Linked DNA regions of Homo sapiens: region 1 is linked to region 2. The links are contacts of gene promoters, found by promoter capture Hi-C in blood cells and fetal thymus (Javierre and others, 2016). All regions are on one chromosome and are shown on one strand. Each heading gives the region's core, a stretch centred on a gene start or on the middle of the fragment in contact. The rest is flanking DNA. Distances are from core to core; before and after follow the strand shown. Region 1 has its middle 16 kb from the start of GABARAPL1-AS1. Region 2 holds the start of KLRK1 (killer cell lectin like receptor K1).

What was found. Contacts are between HindIII fragments. The CHiCAGO score rates a contact against its expected background, and 5 or more counts as called.
Region 1: a contact is called between a fragment that was not itself captured here and the fragment with the promoter of KLRK1 in region 2, in 1 of 17 cell types (naive CD8 T cells). The highest score is 7.0, in naive CD8 T cells.

Annotation. Positions count from the first base shown.
Region 1 is chr12:10,227,568-10,233,914 of GRCh38, reverse strand. No RefSeq gene overlaps it. Among named protein-coding and RNA genes, the nearest start is that of GABARAPL1-AS1, 16 kb to the right of the region's middle. The HindIII fragment of the contact is 8,341 bases long and covers 1-6,347 here.
Region 2 is chr12:10,388,713-10,395,088 of GRCh38, reverse strand. It overlaps KLRK1 (killer cell lectin like receptor K1), which reads left to right and starts at 5,048. Exons shown (of 8, transcript NM_007360.4): 1 at 5,048-5,146; 2 at 6,214-6,318. The coding sequence starts at 6,279. It overlaps KLRC4-KLRK1 (KLRC4-KLRK1 readthrough), which reads left to right. Exons shown (of 13, transcript NM_001199805.1): 5 at 1,222-1,279; 6 at 3,198-3,254; 7 at 6,214-6,318. The coding sequence starts at 6,279. The region is part of intron 3 of KLRK1-AS1 (KLRK1 antisense RNA 1); the gene reads right to left. The HindIII fragment of the contact is 4,388 bases long and covers 2,439-6,376 here.

The sequences.
Region 1 (6,347 bases), core at 1,346-3,845, 160 kb after region 2:
GGGGGACTGTTGGGAGGGCATGATTGTATTTTGAAATGTGAGAACATGAGATTTGGGAGTGGACAGGAGGGGAATGATATGGTTTGGCTTTCTGTCCCCATCCAAATCTCATCTTGAATTGTAATCCAGTAATCCCCATATGTCATGGGAGGGACCCAGTGGGAGGTAATTGAATCATGGGGGTGGTTTCTCCCATGCTGTTCTTGTGATAGTGAGTGAGTTCTCATGAGATCCGATGGTTTTATAAGTGTCTGGCATTTTCCCTGCTGGCACTCATTCTGTTTCCTGCTGCTCTGTGAAGAATACACCTTCTGTTATGATTGTAAGTTTCCTGCGGCCTCCCCAGCCATGCAGAACTATGAGCCAATCAAACCCCTTTTCTTTATAAATTACCCAGTCTTGGGTATTTCTTCATAGCAGCATGAGAATAGACTAATATATAATGAAATCTGGCTGGGTGCAGTGGCTTATGCCTGTAATCCCAGCACTTTGGGAGGCCAAAGTGGGCAGATCACCTGAGGTCAGGATTTCAAGACCAGCCTGGTCAACATGGAGAAACCTTGCCTGTATTAAAAATACAAAAATTAGTCAGTCATGGTGGCAGGCACCTGTAATCCCAGCTACTCGGGAGACTGAGGCAGGAAAATCTCTTGAACCTGGGAGGTGGAGGTTGCAGCGAACCGACATTGTGCCACTGCACTCCAGCCTGGGTGACAGAGTGAGACTCCATCTTAAAACAACAACAAAAAAAAGAAATCTAATCTATCAATTAAGATTATCTTAATTTCTGCAGCACTGCAAAACAAACATTGATGGAGAAGGAAATATGGATCTGGCAAGAATTATATTCTTCTTTTTTTTTTTTTTTTTTTTTGAGACGGAGTCTCACTCTGTCACCCAGGCAGGAGTGCAGTGGTGTAATCTCAGCTCACTGCAACCTCCGCCTCCTAGGTTCAAGCAATTCTCTGCCTCAGCCTCCCGAGTAGCTGGGATTACAGGCACCCACCACCACGCCTGGCTAATTTTTGTATTTTTAGTAGAGATGGGGTTTCACCATCTTGGCCAGGCTGGTCTTGAACTCCTGACCTCATGATCCACCCACTTCGGCCTCCCAAAGTGCTGGGATTACAGGCGTGAGCCACCGCGCCCAGACTACTTATTTTATTTAAAAGTAAAATAAGGCAAATTCAGAAGAGGAGTTCTGTATTAGTGAAGATTCTCCAGAGAAATAGAACCAATGTTATATATAGCCATGTGTCACTTAAGGATGGGGAAATGTTCGGAGAAATGTGTTATTGGGGGCTTCATCATTGTGTGAACATCATAGAGTGTATTTACACAAACCTAGACGATATAACTACTACACACCTAGGCTATACGGTATAGCCTATTGCTCCTAGGCTACACACCCATTCAGCACATTACTGGAGTGAACAGCACAGGCTATTGGAACACAATGGTAAGTATTTGTGTATATAAACATATCTAAACATAGAAGAGGTACAGTAAAAACATGGTGTTATAATCTTATGGGATAACCATCATGTATACAGGCTGTCATTGACTGAAATATCTATATGTAGCACATGACTAGATATAAATGCATATAAAGACTATATGTATATAAATATCTACATATAAATAAAGAGAGAGATTTATTATTCTTATAGAAATTGGCTCATGGAGGCTTATGGAGTCTGAGAAACCTCACCATCTGTCTGCAAGCAGGAGAACCAGGAAAGTCAGTGGTATAATTCAATCCAAGTTTAAAGGTCTGAGACCAGGAGCTGTGGATGTCCCAGCTCATGGACAGAAAGAGGGACTCTCTACCCTCTAACTTTTGTTCGATGGAGGCCCTCAATGGATTGAGTGACACCTGCCTACATTGGTGGGAGAGGATCTTCTTTACTAGGTCTACTGATTCAAACGCTAACCGCTTCCGGAAACACCCTTACAGAAACAGCCACGGATAATGTTTCGCTACCTATCTGGGCATCCCTATAGCTCAGTCAAGTTGACACATAAACTTAACCATCACAAGCGGCTATTTCCAGAACTGTTCCCAATGTGTTGTTAAACAAAGAGCACCCAGTTGAGTCGACCACAACCCTGGCTATACATATCACTTAAGAGGCTTGTAAAAAGTAAAGATGCCATGAATTTTACATTATGTGAATTTTACCTCAATAAAAAGGAGCCTATAGCATAGGGAGGGGGCGGTGGGGGGAAAAATTAAAAAAACTAAAAGTATGGATGCCAAACCCTCCGGTGTCCTCCCCAAGAGTGATGCAGAAGTGGGGCTCTGCCATCAGACGTTTTTGGGAGCTCACCACTGATGGTCATGTGCAGTCAGGGTTGGAAAGCACTGCAGAGATTGATTTTGTTCAGTAGGATGGATAGGGATTTTAATTGAATGTAGCAATAAAGACCCAGGGTTTTTGTTTTTGTTTTTGAAGAACAAACAAACAAAACTCCCAACATTAGAGCAGTCATAAGCCGATTGTAAAAAACCAATATTATCCAACTTCAAAAAATAACAATTAAAAGAGGTCAGACGCGGTGGCTCACGCCTGTAATCCCAGCACTTTAGGAGGCCGAGGTGGGTGGAGTTTGAGGCTGGTAGTTCGAGACCAGCCTGGCCAACATGGTGAAATCCCATCTCTACTAAAAATACAAAAATTAGCCAGGTATGGTGGCAGGCGCCTGTAATCCTGGCTACTGGGGAGGCTGAGGCAGGAAAATCGCTTGACCCCAGGAGGCGGAGGTTGCAGTGAGCTGACATTGTGCCACTGCACTCCAGCCTGGGTGACAGAGTGAGACTTCATCTAAAAAAAAAAAAAAAAAAAAAACGAAAAAACCAGCCTGGCCAATATGGCAAAACCATCTCTTCTAATAATACAAAAATTAGCCAGGTATGGTGACATACGTGCCTGTAATTCCAGCTACTAGGAAGGCTGAGGCACAAGAATCACTTGAACCCCAGAGGCGGAGGTTGCAGTGAGCCAATATTGTGCCACTGCACTCCAGCTTGGGCGACAGAGTGAAACTGTGTCTCAGAAAATACATACATACATAGATAAATAAAATTTTAAAAACTCAAAGGATCATTTTTAACTTTTCCTTGGATAGGCCCCAATAAATCTGTTACAAACAAAATACCCGAATCATGGTCCCCAGGTCTTCATTCCTTGTTAGGCTGAGATATGCTGGATTGTAGACTTATTTTTATACTGATTGTTAATTTCTCTCATTCATAACACTTTATCTAGTAGTCTCAAGATTCCATTTGCATAGATAAAACTGTGTTTAAAATGCTGTTTTCTGTACAGTAAGTCCTCACTTAACATCAATAGATTCTTGGTAACTATGACTTTAGGCAAAATAACATGTAATGAGACTAATTTGATCATAGGCTAATTGATATAAACAAGAGTTACTTTCCCACAGCATGTTTCTGGTCAGAAAAGACACAACCATTTCTTTTTTCTTTTTTTTTTTTTTTTTTTTTTTGAGACAGAGTCTTACTCTGTTGCTCAGGCTAGAGTGCAGTGGCATGATCTCAGCTCACTGCAACTTCTGCCTCCCAAGTCCAAGCGATTCTCCTGCCTCGGCCTCCCAAGTAGCTGGGATTACAGGCACCCGCCACCATGCCTCGCTAATTTTTGTATTTTTAGTAGAGATGGGAGTTCACCATGTTGGCCAGGCTGGTCTCGAACTCCTGACCTCAGGTGACCCACCCGCCTCAGCCTCCCAAAGTACTGGGATTACAGGCGTGAGCCACGACACCCAGCCAAGACCCAAACATTTCTAATATTTAACATTTAAATAAATGTGAGTTATACATACATTTAAGAAAGATTAATAAAAACAAGGTAACTGTTTACCCAATTTATGGTGAATTAGTGAGTGCCACTGGTCCTAGTAGTGGCAGTGGGTTAAATCAAGGAGTAAATATTTGGCCGGGCACAGTGGCTCACGCCTGTAATCCCAGCACTTTGGGAGGCCGAGGCGGGCGGATCATGAGATCAGGAGATCGTAGACCATCCTGGCTAACACGGTGAAACCCCGTCTCTACTAAAAATACAAAAAATTAGCCGGGCGTGGTGGCGGGCGCCTGTAGTCCCAGCTACTTGGGAGGCTGAGACAGGAGAATCACTTGAATCTGGGAGTTGGAGTTTGCAGTGAGCTGAGATCACACCACTGAACTCCAGCCTGGGCAATAAAGACTCTGTCTCAAAAAAAAAAAAAAAAAAAAAAAAAAAGAAAGAAAATCAGTGCTAAAGGAGACTCTAACAGAAAGGAAGAGACCCCCTCAGTGTCAGAGCCGTCTTTTGAGCTATCCAGTTGGGCATATTCTGCTTTGTTTTCCTTGATCCATGCCACATCCTGCATTTGCTGTGACCAATAAACAAAAAAGAGAAACAATCAGAAAGATTTCTGCCATCTAGCCTAAGTTATTGCCTTTTTTTCCTTTTTTTTTTTTTTTTTTGAAATGGAGTTTTGCTCTTGTCGCCCAGGCTGGAGTGCAATGGCACAATCTCTGCCTCCCCAGTTCAAGCGATTCTCCTGCCTCAGCCTACCAAGTAGCTGGGATTACAGATTCTCCTGCCTCAGCCTACCAAGTAGCTGGGATTACAGGCACCCATCACTATGCCCCGTGCCCAGCTAATTTTTGTATTTTTAGTACAGACGGGTTTTCACCATGTTGGCCAGGCTGATATCGAACTCCTGACTTCAGGTGATCCTTCCACCTCGGCCTCCCAAAGTGCTGGGATTACAGGCGTGAGCCACCTTGCCTGGCCAGTTATTGCAATTTCAGTTTCAAGTAAAATAAATCTTAATATGTGAGAATGCTATTTAATGGTTTGCAAAGGATTTACTTGTGTTCGCAACAATGTATGATGTAATTATCTTATCTACTTGAAAAGGAAATGCAGAATTTTTTTTTTTGAGATGGAATCTCGCTTTGTTGCCTCGGCTGGAGTGCAGTGGCACAATCTTGGCTCGCTGCAACCTCCGCCTCTGAGATTCAAGCGGTTCTCCTTCCTCAGACTCCCAAATAGCTGGGACTACAGGTGTATTTTGTATTTTTAGTAGAGACAGAGTTTCACCATGTTGGCCAGTCTGGTCTTGAACTCCTAACCTCAGGTGATCCGACTGCCTCAACCTCCCAAAGTGCTGGGATTACAAGTATGAGCCACTGCGCCCAGCCTGGAAATGCAAATTTCATTTGTACAGATGACAGACTAGCCCAAGTCCTAGCTCTAGTCAAGCAGCAGAGCTGGGATTCAAGTTGTTTCCTGCCTCCAGGACATCTTTCTAGTAAGCTCCAAGTGTTTCCCAAAGTTCCTTGACTGGCCTGTTTGTAACATGTCTTTCTGGATAATTTAAGTTGCCTAGTGGTTCAGTCCTATCAAAAACTACTATTTCAATATTTTTGAATGCCAACCATATGCCATTCACTGTTCTGACCAATTGTTGTATATCACTACACAAAAAGTTTCTGCCTTCCTGCACCTCAGGATCTAGAGAGAGAAGACATAATAAACTAGAAAATTATGTTACATGATCACTACGAAGCAAAAAAGACAAAGACCAAGGTTGAGAATGACTAGGAGAAAGGGAAGTAGGGGGAAGGTGTTGAATATTAGAGATGTTCAGAGTTGGTCTCCTTGACATAGTATCTAAGACTTGAAGGAGGTTAGGAACTAGCCAATTTTAGCACGTAAAATATGGCTTATTGTTACTTTTATCCTTTGAATACCATGTGCATATTGCTTAAAGAAGCAATAAAGCCATCATCATTCTTTTACTGAATGGTATGAAGCAACTTTGAGCCTACTAAAAGTGTAAAAATAGAAAACATGTTTCAACTTCTCACCCAAAAGTTCAGGATCACTTTATTCAAGTTTTAGGAGCTAAGTACTTCTAAACAGAAGTCCTAAGGGTCTTAAATACACTGCTTTTGAAAACAGAACTACTGAAATAGATGGCCCCACCGTGATGAAAACACACCAGGAGAATGACTTGTCTTTTGTTAGTCACTGTTGAAAACATGCACACCTGCACAATGGCATAGTGAAATGTCATTTGACTACTTTTAAGGGTGATAACTTCCTGTTATTTCAAACTCTGAAAATAATCTAGCCATGGGTACATATACTTAAGAAGTGCCCACAACCAGGAGGAAAAAAAAAAAAAAGGAAAAGAAAATGAGGCAGGGCCCTACACAGGGTAACCAAGCTGAGATCATCAGTCACAGCTTTTGGAACAGGGATTCTAGTATTTGTGTGTGTGGACTTTTTGTTGTTGTTGTTCAGCTACTTATCAAAGGTAAACAAAGGGGT
Region 2 (6,376 bases), core at 3,799-6,298:
AACAGTGGGCCCAGGGGACTGGCGCTCAGCATACCAAGGAGCTGCAGTGGGCACTGGTCTCTGAGTTCCCTCAGTTTTTATTGATTATTATCTTCATTCTTTCAGCAAAAAGGAATGTAGTAGGAGGGCAGGGTGATAATAAGGAAAAAAACATGTGAGCAATAGAATCTACGTCATAATTAAGTTCAAGGGAAGGTACTATGACTGGACGTGCACGTAAGCCAGATTTATGTTTCTCTCCACCCAAACATCTCAGTGGAGTAAAGAATAACAAGGCAGCATTGCTGCAAACGTGTCTCGCCTCCCACCATAGGGTGGTTTTTCCCCCATCTCAGAATTGAACAAATGTACAATCGGGTTTTATACCGACACATTCAGTTCCCAGGGGCAGGCAGGAGACAGTGGCCTTCCTCCCTTTCTACACAGACACAGTAACAGTCTGATCTCTCTTTCTTTTCCCTACATCACTCACACCCTTTCTTGTGGTTCCAGGTTGCCCCAGGCTGTTTTCATCTCCAGCTCTTCATAACGCCACTTAATAAACCAACAATACTGGACTGCATATAGCATTTTTTATTCATTTTAATGTCTCTCTTCTATGTTTTAGAGATTTCTGTCTTTGGTATTTTGTATGTTTTAACAACATTACCTTGATTTCTAACGTTTTTTTTTTAATCTCCAGAAATCACCCAATCTAGGACACCTTCTCTAACACCATTTTCTCACATTTAATACTGGAGACCTATTAGAAAATTGTCCTTTATAATACTATCATTTAAAACACCCAGAGTTTGTGTCTACCGTTGTGAATTACATACTAATTTAAAACCATCTGCTTCTGTGTATGCCTTAAATAGAGTGTGGACAACTAGATGATAGGAACTGTGCTTTATACTTTATTGAACTTTGTTTATTCATGGCCAAACAATATGCTTGCTCCATAATAGATAAAAGCTCAATAAATAAATATAGAATGATATTATGAAAATATCAGTAATTTCCTATTTACTTATTTTTGTTAAGCTTTGGTACTATTACTTCTATGTCAAATTATGAAGACAACATTATTACAGTGCAGAAAAACGCCAGGACCTCTTGGCTAAGACCTCAAGAGGAACATTGTAAGATTTTAGTAGTGATTTTTATATTCGCCAAAATATAATGCAAGCGTTGTAGACTTTTAACCACTTGCATTTTTTATTCCTTTGCACACAAATGAAGCTACTGGGGATAAAGGAAGGAGAAATAAGTCAACTAAAATTTGAGCACCTGCTAATAGGTACGTAAGAGGGAAAAAAATGTGACTTGAGACACCTTGCTTCACTCATTTCTACAATTAATGAGCCATTTTCCTTAGGAAGAAAAATGCTGTCTTATCCCTATATCTGTGTCTTTAGGCACTTGTGGTAAGTAATGTCACAAATTTAAGTCATCTTCAAAATTCTAGACTTCTTTGATATTTGAAGCACTGAAGTAAACACAAAATCCATTTGAATCCAAGATGCAGAAGTCGTTAAAGGCATCGTTCCATCTATGAATGTGGAGATTATCACTATAGCAGGAAATGGAAGGTTTAATGGCAATCAAATAAGCAATCAGAGAAAAGTAACCAGGATGCTAATAAAAAATATGATGTCATCTGACCTGCAAATCATGCATGTGACTTACTTGAGAGCAATTGTTTAAAGTTACTATTTATGTATGGCTATTTATGCACAATTATAAAGATAATACCAGAGTGGGAAAAACACTTTTCTGTTCCGTTATACCATATAGATTGCAATTAAACAATCAAAACAATGGTGTGTCCTAGCATGGATTAAGTTAATATAACACAAATATTTGCTAAAGATATTTCAATTGAATTGCTAAATTTTAGAATTATACAAAATTTCAACTGAGATGGGGCAAAAAAATCATTTAATCATTCCTGGCTTAGGAAGCTGTGCCAGAGAAAATTAATTAATTGCCAAGATGATGACCTGTTTTTCCCCAAAGTATAAATTCCAGATTTATGGAATCTCTGCCTTGAGTTCATATAATTACAATACACCAGTTAACATTATATGTCAGTATGTGTAGCCCAGTACTTAATACCTAGCTGAATGGAAAATAGGTTCTGAAAATATATATATACATATTTCTTAAAATATGTTTGCAGACTTTTTTACTTTTACATTAGTCATCATTTCACTTCTGCTTCAATATGCCCATGCGTGTCCAGACGAGACTGGATGCATCATGGTGGTGTGGCCATAGATGCCCCTGCATATCCAAAGACTCAGCTCTATTTCTTCCACTCCTTTTTATTTTCTTTATTGTCCATGTGAATTTTAAAAATTTGTCCTTTTTGACATGTCTTTTGTCAATTCAAACACATTTACCAAAAGGTCAAGATTACAAAATTTTTGCTTGGCAATAGCTGCACATCTTAAGCTTTCATATTTGGGCAAGCGTCCAGTAAACGCCTCTGACCACATCCAGCTTTAGTGTCACAGCTTGAAGCCAGCAACCTGCCAAGCACTCTGTTTCTAACCACAAGTTGGCTGCGTGTTAAGTCTTTCCTGTGTACCAGAAGAGAAGGGTTTTCTGAGGCCACAGTGCGAGTTAGCTTACTGACCAAAAAGGCCGGTTGATTGTTGGCTCTTCTCAACTAATGAAAGTAATTAAATAGTTTATTGTGGTGATGGATGTTCTCAAATGACTTGAGCCCAGGCTGTTTGCAAAATATTGTAATTTTTCTTCTAACAATAGTTTTTGAAAGTTATATAGATACGTCTATATGAAGTTTGTTCAGGTACTTTTATAGTCAAATTATTCTTTCTGCAGAAGTTAATTGCGTTGGTTTTATTTCACTTATTAGAAAGTATTTTATCTGAAAACTATGCTATGTCCTTTTGCAATTCACATAGAATAAACCAGTACAAATGCCCAGCAAATCCCCAATAAGTTTACTATCATGACTACAGCAAAGTGAGTGTATGTTCAACATTGAGAAAGAAATTGGAGTTTTAACATACTATTTCTTTATCTAACTAATTGTTTTAACCCGACATACAGGACCCATTTTAGAATTTTCTTCTTTAAGAATCCTTTCCACACTCTGTCAGTTGGTTTAGGGACCTTTATATATGACAATAAAACTCTCCCTGGTGCTTAGCTTTATCATGGTATTTATTTCAGAAATCTTCTTTTAGGTATGTGTGGGGACTTCCCAGTTGGCTGTAAGTTGCCATTTGAACTAAACGAAATAGGTAGGATATTCAAATGTTCTTTTTTATCCTATTCCTATCCCCCTTTTCTCAATTCTGTATTTAAGAGACAATCTCTATTCAATCGAAAACTACATATATAAAAATAACTCTTCAGGAAATTGTGATTCAGGTTTTTCCCATAAAAAGCCTGCATTTACTCATTTATTCATTTCCTTTCAAAAACCAAATATTTGTTAAAATGTAGTTGTTAGAAAATATCAGCCTATATTTCCTCTATATAGATCTATTTTTACTATATAAAATAGCTAATAGAAAATGTTGATTAGCTGAAAAGAATCTTGGTATGTCAGAAAATAACATATTTTCTTCAACTTGTTTTATATTCACCTATCTTGTTTAATTTTGAATTTGTTTTATACTTATTCATTTTATATCACCTAAACTAAAAAGTAATTTCCAGCTGGGTGTGGTGGCTCACGTCTGTAATCTCAGCACATTGGGAGGCTGAGGCAGGAGGATCACCTGAGGTCAGGAGTTCGAGACCAGCCTGACTAACATGGTGAAACCTCGTCTCTACTAGAAATACAAAAATTAGCCAGGTGTGGTGGCACATGCCTGTAATCCCAGTTATTCTGGAGGCTGAGACAGGAGAATTGCTTGAACCCAGGTGGCGGAGGTTGCAGTGAGCCGAGATCGCCCCGTTGCACTCCAGCCTGGACAACAAGAGTGAAACTCCATCTCTTAAAAAAAAAAAAAAAAAAAGTAATTAATTTCCATGTGGGCAAAAACTTTCTTTTGGATTGTTTACTTTGACATTCTCAAGATCTAGAAAAGTGCATAGCAAATAGCATTCGCTAAAGAAAAAAAATGTTGAATAAATTTATTGTCCAACTTTAACACATCACCACATGAAAGCTGTTTTCCTTCCTTATATTTCAGAGTTTTAAGATTAATAGCTTTGGTTTTTGTTAAAATGTTATAATGTGTTCATCTTATATTACTTTATATGATGTCTTATGTTAGTATTTTAAATTAATAAACATAAAATATATATTTAGCTTATCTTGTTCATTGGTATCAATTCATATATTATTCTTATGTATACTGGGGTATATATTTAAGTTTCTAATTCTCCTGCATATGATGTAGATATGACAGAGATGCAATTTCATGTTTTTTATATTAAAATTTAAAAATTCCCAGGACTAATTTTTTGTAACTTAAAGGCCAGTGTGATAGTAACCCAGGACAAATTATTGAATAGGAGCTAATTTCCCACTTTATCTGCAATGTTACCTTATATTTTTTAATCTATGCACATGACTTTTTCTTGTCTGTATTTTTACCCTTCTCAATTTGTCTATCTATGCCCCACATGCCACTTTGCCTTTATTAATACGGTTTTAACATAGGTCTTACTATCTAGTAAAACAAGGCTCCCACATTTTCTTCATCTTCAATTGTGACTTTCCTAGTCTTGACTTTTGTAATTTAATGTACATGTAGAATTCTGCTTTGTAAGTTCTACAACAAAACCTGAGGTATTAACTGGAATTGAATTGAATCTCTAAAATATTTAGGATTAAATGGCATCATTTAAATTCATCATTTTCAAATCCTAAAATGTTATTTAAAATAATGGCAAAACTACAATTACTTTTGCACCAACCTAACATTTATCCAACAATGGGTGGTCTTAACTCTTTTACCAAATTAACAATATTTTTGTAGTGATAAGGCGGAAGTACTGTGGTTTATGTTTTTCCACAGGAAGATGAGATTATAATATTTGTCACATCTTTCTCAAAGATAGAAATTCACTAAGTATCTCCACTTTCAATTCTAGATCAGGAACTGAGGACATATCTAAATTTTCTAGTTTTATAGAAGGCTTTTATCCACAAGAATCAAGATCTTCCCTCTCTGAGCAGGTGTGTGTATGTGTGTATGTGTGTGTGTTTATTATTCAAGATATGAGAAATTATATTTCAACCTCAAAAAAATAAAAATATTTACACTATAAGGTAATTCTAATTGTTTCTTAGATGCTTGAATAGAACTCCTGAGGATACGGAATGCTTATCATTTCTGATGTATATTCTATCACTGTATCTGATGATAGGTAATTAGGATATACTTATTGAAGAATCAGAAGTTGTAATATTACTATAAGAAGAAGCCTTGTCTCTAAGCAAAACTAGAAAAATGAATCTTTACATTTAGGATGAGAAGAATTGAGATTCAATTTAAATTGTCAAATTTTTGAGTTTTCTGATGCTGTAGGGGGCACTTACCTTTGATACACATCTTTACATGCAAGGTGAAACAAGTTATATCTGTGCTTTCCAACTATCATAATCAAATATGAAATAGCTTTTATTTTTGAAATCTAAGCACTATGCTTATTTATTAAATGGTTTTTTCTGGAAGCTCTGCTGTGCATTGCTAAGATGTTACTATATAAACATGTGAGATTAGTTTTGTTAATGATGATGGTGATGATAATTTGTTGATGATGATGATATGGGCACGTTGGATTAAAATGCACTAGAAAAGGACATTCAACAAAAGTGCATATAACTTACCTGAGTTTAGCTTGCAGAAAGAAAACTAAATTATTGCCAGATAAAATAAACAACTGGAAACACTTGATCTTAGCTAAAAGGCCAAGAAGCAATAAACGACTATAAACAGAAAACTGGGTGTGTTGTTATCTAATATCAGTAAAGTAAAATATTGGTATTAAATATCTCAATGTAGGTGAATTAATAGGTTCATTATATTGTTATGACATTTTGAAGTAATTGGCGATTATTTTACAACCAAGAGAAATGTATAAAATTAATTTTGCCTGGCTTTATGTGAATTGTCATTTCTATTCTTTTCTTAAAGGCATGCACAGGGGAAAAGTTTCTGCATTTTACTTTTCTATTCAAAATATTTTATCTCACCACGGGAAAGAGAACAAAAAACAAATGCCCAGTTTTATTTTATTCAGGAATCCTTTGTGCATTGAAGACTTTAGATTCCTCTCTGCGGTAGACGTGCACTTATAAGTATTTGATGGGGTGGATTCGTGGTCGGAGGTCTCGACACAGCTGGGGTATGTTTTTACCACATAAGTGTGTAGTTTTGTTTTTATACAATTTTAAGATACCAAG